3 separate regions of the Homo sapiens genome follow, and regions 2 and 3 are each linked to region 1. Evidence: promoter capture Hi-C in 16 types of primary human blood cells and fetal thymus (Javierre and others, 2016). All regions are on one chromosome and are shown on one strand. Each heading gives the region's core, a stretch centred on a gene start or on the middle of the fragment in contact. The rest is flanking DNA. Distances are from core to core; before and after follow the strand shown.

Region 1 (2,955 bases), core at 182-2,681:
TCTGCCTCTGAATGAAGCTAAAAATGGAAAGCGCGTGTGGTGCAGGAGCGGAACCCAGCCTGCCTTTTCCAAATGGGGAAGACCGAACTTTCCCACCAGCTCCCAACGCAAAACAACTTTCAAAACAACTGCCTCCTCCCTCTGCTGCGAGCTCTCTTTCATCCTCTCACATGGAAGACTGAAAAGGGTTGCATCCTGCCAGCATCACTGAGCTACGGCCTCTTAGAAATCACTTGGACCACAGGAAAAGAGGAGGAAAAATGGGTGAAGGGGAAAACAGCCTGCAGTGTCTTCTGACTTGCAAGCATCTCATACCAAATTGAAAAGGCAAAAACAAAACATAAAACCGTTTAATAAAATTCCCTGGAGAGAATTCCTTTAGGAGTCCTCAGCTACAAATAGCACTTTCCATTTAAATCTGAAAGTGTATGAATTCCCAGAAGTCACTGATGTACTACAGTTTACTGTAACTAAAGTTATAACAAATTTAGAAGACTTGGAGGACAAGCTCTGCTTCCACTTGTACATTGATGAGGATATTCCCCCAAAATCCTCCCTCACACTCAGAAAAAAACTGTTTTCCAAAGGCAAAAAAAGGTAAACAACTTCTGTAAGGGTTTTCTCATATAGACATGTTTGATAAAAATGAGGAATATGGGTATCATTTCCATGTAAGAATGTGTGTTTGTTCAAATGTAAACATAACATTCTGTGGAAGTCCTTCAAGGAGGTTTTTACATTCTTCCACTTCTCTAAATAGGATGCTCTTAAAAAAAAAAAAGTTGGATGCAAAGTTGTTTTTCCCTCAGTTATGATTTAAGCAAACCTGCTTATTTTTATTTAGTTCCAACATGTAGAGTCATGACGCCAAACACATGTTAAAAATAAAATAAAATAGAAAACTTCAGCCAACCCGGAATAGTTTGACGAGTGTGAGCTGGAACCACTACTGAAATTTCAATGAATTGGCAATTATGTCTAGAACTGAAAGGGTTAATGATTCATAAGGAAAGTCTCACAAATGTTTGACAGCACTAAGTGCACTAAAGCAGAAGCATGTTTCTACTGCGACATTAGCCAAAAAAAATTAATAATAATAACAATAAAGGAAAAGAAAATAAAGTTTTCAGATCAATTTCAGAATTAAAAAAAAAAAATTCAAGTTCCTTACCAAGGTCGTACCCACACGTTTTTCCAAGCAAATATCCAACATCTGAGAAAAGTCTCGTTCATCTCTACCCAGTCCACATTCTCCCCGCGTCCCCCGCCAGGCTGAGCCGCACAGACGCGCACCTCGGCGGTCCCTCCTCGCTTCGTCCGGCCGCCCGGGCGCCCGCGTCCCAGCTCCGGGCGGACAGGTGCCGCGGTCGCTGCTCTTGCCTCTCCGCAACACTGGAGGGCCGAGTGTCACGGCAGCACTTTGTCTGTGTTAACCGTCTGGCTTCCCCTCCCTGCTTAAGATTTCCTTAGCCACTCGGCTGCGCGAAGTGGGGGCGTGGCCAACGTGGCCAACACCACCTGGCCGAGCCCAGGGCTTTCCCCCAGATTGCTAGCACAGCCGCCGAGAGCTTCCTCTCTTCGCATGTGTATTTCAACATTGACTTGGAATCTTCTTACTTCCCTTTGAAGGCACTTAACCTCAACGCTTACTTGGGCTCTATTGTATTCTAAACACTCCAGATCGCCCTCCTTCCTGGCGCGGCAGAATTAGGGGGCGCACGTTCCTTAAATTAAGGAAACTTAAAATTTACCTACACAGTTTCTGATTTCTCAGCTCAAATCCCCAGGTACAAAAGACACAAATCTTACTTCAAAAGAGCAAGTTAAATTGTTTTTGCAGCTAGTGTAATACAGTGGAGCTGTCTGGTCCTCAAGCTGTTGTGTATGTAACGCACGTTTCCCCGCCCCCCGCCCCAAAAGTTGTAACATTCCGTTTCTCCTGCTAACGTTCAAACTTGGCAGAACTAACTTTCCTCTTTTAACTATTTAGTAAATAGGGAAATAGGCAAAAGTTATAATTCTACAGATTGTTTGTTTTCCTTTCCTCTCCTCCCAGAACCCACAGGCTGACTTCCCAGGAGTGTAAGTAAAATGTAGAGCATTAGTCGTTTCACAGTTCAGAGGAATATTGAACTGATCACTGCAAGTGGAAAGCGGTCGGAGGCAGTAATTAGTGGGGCTTATTCTGAGCCCCGGCCAGCTTTTCCTCCAGCCCAGTCAGTCCTCTGTTGAAGGAAGGACATCCTGTGATGATGGCATACAATGTCCTGTTTGTTTATTATTAAGAGCGTGGACCTTGCATTCCTGCTTCTCATTACAAAACAAACCAGATGCTTTACTTCCTTCAATGGTCTTGTGCCTTCAGCAAGGAATCCTTTAATTCAGAGAAACAATGTTTATAGCAAACACCCCATTTCAATTATTATTTAGATCATTGAAATCCAGGTCTTCCATTTTTCCTGCTTGCCTTACCATAGGTAGGTTTTTTTAAAATCATTTCTCCTTCGACCTGCAATGTCTTTTCTAACATTTTAAATACACGTGTGCACACACATCCACCCACACACACACCCACATACACACACCCAGTTCCAACCTAATGATACCAACTTAGTCATACAATGAAATGGACATCTGAGTATTTGTTTACAGGAAGAAATGAAACAAAGCAAAACAAAAGCCCAACTCAATCCTAAAAAATATGTCTGTTTATCTTTAAAATTTCTTTTCTCACTTTTAGAAAACTTTTCTAGAATTTTTTTTAGGGGAGAGGGGGAGAGGCAAAAGATTATTTGCCAGGAAATGGTGTCTAAAGTCTTGCTGCAATCTCTCTCTCAGTACAGAACAATTAAATTCCCACTAGGGGACATGATTAGCACACACTCGCTGCTTGCTGCGTGGCCCACCTGTGATTGCATGTTATGCCAGAGGGGACGCTAGCACCAAGAGGAAGCA
Region 2 (2,955 bases), core at 119-2,618, 170 kb before region 1:
AATATACAGTAGTTTTAAAAAGTAATAGAACAGGAGGTTATTGGTTATAAATCTATAGATGATTGTAACAGGAATACATTTAGATAATTAGTCCTGGCCTACCACTGTGCTGTAGCTCTGTAAATCTCTTTTTGACAAGCTGCTTTAAAGATTGTCATGGATGAAGGGAAAATGGGAGTATAGTTGAAGATCATTATTATTAGAAATTTTAATATAAGCACATAGAACAACAGAATAATTTGTTTTTTACATTATGAAATTTTTGAGTTTTGAATCTTTTTTATTACCTGGCTTAAAAATACATTTGAAATAAATTATTCTTAATTGGTTAGAATACGATAATTGAATCCTGTCTACTTAAAAATGAAGGCAGTTACTGGGATTGACTCTTGGAATACGTTTAAAGATGTTGTAACTTACAGTCATGGTTTATTGGCTGGTGATGTTGAAATTGGAATTTACAGTCTGCTTTTCTCAATACTTAATAAGATTAATTTTCTTTAAATTTCCAAGCAGTAGTTTTTAACGATTTACAGAGTTTTCATGAGGTAGCTAGTTTTTACTGACTCCATTTATAAAGCTATGCTGTAATAAGGTGTAGCAATTGTGAACCTCTCATCTTTTCAGATTAACAAGAACCCCTTCCCCCATCATGCTTATGTCCTCTCCCCTACTATATTAAGACATGTTAGAAGAAGAAGGGGTTGGAAAGGAATGGTTATCTAGGTCTTAAGCGATAGAGTTGGAACTCAGACTTGCTTGTCAAGACTGGAGGACTCCTCAGATGTTGGCCCAGATGTTCTTGGACCACCATTCTTATTCCCACCGTTACATGATATGGCTGGAGATGAATGCAGTGAAATTGATGGGAGGTAAATGGCAACTAAATTGTGCCCACAGGGTGAGAAGATAGAACCTTATATGGTGGTTGAAAAAGTTGGAGGAAGCAAAAGGGACATAGAGGGTATTTGGTTGTAAATATTGCAGCTATACTGTGTTAGGGCTTTTATTCTCCCAATTATGGCTAGCAAAGGCTGCTCAATTGCATAACTCCAACAGGCAACATTCACATAGAATTTGATGTGAGTGATGCAGACTCCCTGGCTCTGAGCCAGACTGAACAGTCCAGCAGTTCTGTAATGATGGGGTTTTGGCAGGGCCACTTTTCCATACTGGTCCTGACACTTCTTACCTGGTAGAATCTAGAAGCTCAGTGCCTTCTCTTGTTGAATCTGAGGCAGCCTAAAAGATAATGATAATAGGAAACACTTATGTAGCACTTAATTTGTGTCAGGCACAGTAAGTGTCTTGCTAAAACTCACACAACTATTAAATAAATGACAAAGCTGGGAAACAAACCCAGGCAGTGTGGCTCCAGACTGTCTACTTTTTCCACTATGCCACACTTTGTTTGCTATTCCCTTGTTTTTATTGTCTCCATTGCCTAGTCATTCATTTAGCTATTAGTGATTAACAAACATTCGTTGAGTATGTACTATGTGCATACTCATAGTACATTAACTTTCTAGGGCTGAAGTACGTAGAACTTTCTAGGGCTGAAGATAAAGTCTTTGCCCTCATGGGACTTACATTTTGGTTGAGGGAGAGCGACAGTACATACTTAAACATGTAAATTGCATAATTTGAAGTAACGATAAGTATTTAGAATAAAATAGAGTGATGGTATAGGGAATGATTGGAAAGTGGGACTGTCTTACCTAGGATTATGAAAGAAATCTTTCTGAGGGGGTAACACTATTGAGACTTGAATGATGAGAAGCAGTTATGTAAAGATTAGGAAAGTGGGGATTCTAGGCTGCTAAAACTGAAATGGGAGCAAGTTTGGTATTTACTAGGGACCGAAAAGAAAAATAGCATGACTTAGAGCTTAGTAAGTAAGGTAGGTAGTAACTTAGTAAGTTAGTAAGGTAGACAGTGAGATCTCAGAGAAATGCAGCAATAACTTTCCAAGGGGGTGGAATGGGCCTGGTAGGAATCTGCTTCTAGGGGAAGAGGTATTTTGTTACTCACATTATTTATGGTTGCCTGCATGTAGAGTTTGGTCAGGGAGCAGTCTGCCCCAGATGCAGGCAGTAAGGAGATGCAGTGGGTTGCATATTTTTAAAAATGATTTTAGTATATAACTTAAAATAACCATATCATTAATGTGCATCATAAAGCATTATGTTTTATGGCCCATTAGAAAATATTTGAAAATTTACTCGTTGATGATTTATACTTTAAAAGAGCTTTCTGGATGCTGTGCACAGGGGATAAACATAGGACAGTGACCAAGTAGGAGGCTATTGTGTTGGCTCAGAGAGGTGAAAGTGGTAGTGGTGAACACGGAGAGAAGTAATTGCAGTCTAAATATATATTGATTACTGTTCTTGATGCCAATTTTCTAAGACTGTGGCACTTACTTTGTAGGGTAAAGGAGTAAATGTCTTCTCTCAGTTAATTTTCAGACAGTTACTGTCCAGGTCACAATTGTCCAGGAATTTGGATTTTATTGCTTTTGTGATTCACTGAAACCACAGATTTCCCTGGGTAGAAACCTTCTGCCAAGATGTGTGTTTATGGACAGGATGAAGGATGAACTTCCTCCAGGACTGGCACTGCTCAGCCCTGACGCAGAGGCTAGCCCACTGGGCCCACCTACTTCTGTGTTCATGATGAATTTTCAAGGGCTGATTCTCTTAATTTGACCTGGCTCATAAGGCAGATGAGTTTGAAGATACAGGTCACTTACTGAAAACCTGCTTTTGGCAGCCTACCAGTAATTACTACTTGTTCATTTTTATTTTTCTCCTGTTTTGTCTTACAGAGATGTTTAACATATTACGTATGAAGAAATTAATTCATATGGGTCTATATTTGAATGTGTTTTCTGTTACATACCTTGAAAGCCTCTGATTAAAACAATACAATTATTACATGATCACTTGTAGTACT
Region 3 (2,955 bases), core at 122-2,621, 140 kb after region 1:
AGTCTGTCAAAAGCATTCTTGTTCAAACACATTTTGTCTACTTTTCCTTTTCGGGATTGGATGATTCCACCCATCACTAACATTTAATTTAGGCCTGGATGCAACCTATTACTCTTCTTCTTGGGTTTCATTAATATGTCCCAAATTTGCTGTGCCTGCCCTTAGCATCCTAGTCCTACAAATTTCTTGGGTATATTTTCTTAGGACTTAGACAATATCTATAATATGTACCCATCTGTAATAATTGTATTATCCTGAAAGTTACTCAATTATCTTTAGAATATTTTTATTTATTTGCTAGCAGTAAATGTGAAGATAGATCTGGATAGTCTTACAGAAGTGATAATCTTCAGACGAAATGTGGTAGAGTTTTTTAAATAGAAAACAGTATTTGAGGATTTCTTTGAACATCAAAATCTAGCTTAAATTCCATTTTATAAATATAAATGTCTTCTTGGCCCCCTTTATAATTATACAATAAAGAGAAATGTAAAAGATCTTGGCTCAATTGTGCCTCCACTTAGCCATGTGATCTTGGGAAAAATCAGCTCATCATTTTGGTGCTTAGCTTCCTTATAGAGAGAGGAGGTATCTGGCTGGACTGTAATGTCTCTAAGGTTTCAGAAGGCTCATCTTATCTTAGTAAATCAAAAGACTCTGAAGCAGGTATTTTACCACATGGTTGGTACAGTTTTCTGAGATATCTCTTTGGACCCAATCCCTGTTACAAATGCGGTTTAGGAGGTGGAACTTTTATTTCAGTACTCAGATGACTCTTGTTCAGTACCCATCTAGAAAACTAGCTGGCAGCTTGAAAATGAGGGGAAATGAGACAAAGAGAAAAGTCCCAAATATTCCCTTAATCCTTTAAGCAAGAAAACACTGGAAGGGAGAAATGTGGGAATATATACGGTTCTGAACAAGCAATAACAGTAATGTGGCTTTCACCCTCCCTCTCCTTTTTCTCACTAGCCCTACACATAATTTAGTCATCTATGTTGGAAATGAGAACTATGTCTCTTGATAGAACTTATAGTACCAGTTCCCATGGTATAAGAATGACATCATTCATTTTTTTGCAGTTCAGTGAAAAACAAATGAAATTTCTCACCTCAAATTTCAGAAAGCAAAAGGAATTGTTCCCAAGAAGAACTTGTCATTTCCTTGGAGTGATTATGAAACCTGTCTGTGGTTATGGAGAATTTTCCTTCTCTGAATTTATGTAAACTCAAAATTTTCCAGGCTTTAGAAATAATCGTAGATAAATAAAAATATTGAGCCTCTTAGTTTTATTGGTTCAGGTTTGGATGTGATTCAAATTTTGTACATGTGCCAGTGGTTGGGGTGGATGGATGAAGGAAAGAGAAAACGAACTGAGGGAGACATTTGGAGTACAAGATGGATGGTGCCAATGCACTGCACATGGCTGTTTTTTGTTTTTTGTGCAGGTGGAGCCGTGGATGGGAGGATTAAACACCCCATTCATCTGAGGTGTGCATATGTCAGCACCTTTCAGGTACTTAGAAATGGAGTGCTTTATTTTAGTGATTAGTGTGTGAATGAAAAACCTGAAGAAAATGTACTAGAAAGAAGCCTATGTTGAATGCCTGGGGAGGGTAGTGAAATTCTTTCAGCCAGCTCCAGGTTAAAGAAGCCTCACATTTCAGCTCTAGGGCAGCTTGGAGCACTGGGAGAAGGACCTGTTGAAGGACCTCATTAGCGTGAATGATGGCTTCCTTTTACACATTAGTCAATTTTCAGGCAAGGCTTTTCACACTGTAAAGAGATAAAACAAAACAAAACAAAAAAACCCCCCAAACTCTTTTTGAAAATGTCCTGAAGGCGACTTTATGGCAGCAGCAGATCCCAGATTAGTCAAAGAAGCTGTTTGTTTACATTGTTCAGTTATTTTGAAAACTGTTAAACTATTGTTTCCAAGATGACAAATAAGTGGATCCTAGGGTCACTTAGAATCACATGTTAATCTTCTTAATGTCAACACTAGGACAATTTGGGAAAGAAAAGGGATCTCACCCTTCCCTCACATCCATATTTTGTTACTCTATAAATTGTATTTCAAAAAGAGGCATGGTTTTCTTTCTTGATACCTGGTTCAGATCGGCCAGGAGAAATCCTTCATGTTCTGTCTTCCTGCCTTGCATAGTTGCTTATTTTAGGAATAAATATAATAACTTTATTAACAGCACATTGGCAAATTAGTCTTAAAAATGGTTTGGACTAATTTTAATCTTTTGAAAACTAATTTTTTCATTTAGGTTAAAATGTTTCATTGTTGGTACAATTTATTTTGCCTTCCTTCAACTTCAATCAGCTGTCTATGCATGTGTCTGTCTGTGAGTAGAACTAGGAAGGAGTCCGTGTGGGAAAGATTAAAATACTTTTTTTTTTTAATTTTAAACTCAGTTATTTAGTGTTTATACAGTTTATCGAGTCAGAGCCTTGGAAATTAAAATTTGGAGGATCAGGACGAGCTTCCAAAAGCAGTTTTAAAACCATCTTCTCCTCAAATACCCATAGATCCAGTGGTGAGCCTGGGGTTATCAGTCTAGGTACCTCCTCCCTTATGGTGAGCTCCCCTTTGGGGCCAGTTGAGACGGTAACAGGCCATCAAAGGAGTACTCATGATTTTGAACCTCAAAGGGAAGAGATTGGGGCCTGGATTATTTTTCCGCAAGAGATTTCTCAGTATTTATTTATTTATTTATTTATTTATTTATTTATTTATTTGGGATGGAATCTCGCTCTGTCGCCCAGGCTGGAGTGCAGTGGCATGATCTCGGCTCACTGCAAGCTCTGCCTCCTGGGTTCACGCCGTTCTCCTGCCTCAGCCTCCCAAGTAGCTGGGACTACAGGCACCCGCCACCATGCCCGGCTAATTTTTTGTATTTTTTAGTAGAGACAGGGTTTCACCGTGTTAGCCAGGATGGTCTCGAT

Evidence for each region. Contacts are between HindIII fragments. The CHiCAGO score rates a contact against its expected background, and 5 or more counts as called.
Region 2: a contact is called between a fragment that was not itself captured here and the fragment with the promoter of PRDM1 in region 1, in 1 of 17 cell types (activated CD4 T cells). The highest score is 5.4, in activated CD4 T cells.
Region 3: a contact is called between a fragment that was not itself captured here and the fragment with the promoter of PRDM1 in region 1, in 1 of 17 cell types (activated CD4 T cells). The highest score is 5.0, in activated CD4 T cells.

Annotation. Positions count from the first base shown.
Region 1 is chr6:106,084,812-106,087,766 of GRCh38, reverse strand. PRDM1 (PR/SET domain 1) reads right to left here and starts at 1,431. Exons shown (of 7, transcript NM_001198.4): 1 at 1,172-1,431. The coding sequence starts at 1,213. RefSeq lists an enhancer at 1,084-1,803. The HindIII fragment of the contact is 5,820 bases long and covers 1-2,955 here.
Region 2 is chr6:106,252,994-106,255,948 of GRCh38, reverse strand. All of the region lies in intron 5 of ATG5 (autophagy related 5), which reads left to right. Among named protein-coding and RNA genes, the nearest start is that of ATG5, 71 kb to the left of the region's middle. The HindIII fragment of the contact is 3,373 bases long and covers 1-2,955 here.
Region 3 is chr6:105,939,923-105,942,877 of GRCh38, reverse strand. No RefSeq gene overlaps it. Among named protein-coding and RNA genes, the nearest start is that of PRDM1, 140 kb to the left of the region's middle. The HindIII fragment of the contact is 6,159 bases long and covers 1-2,955 here.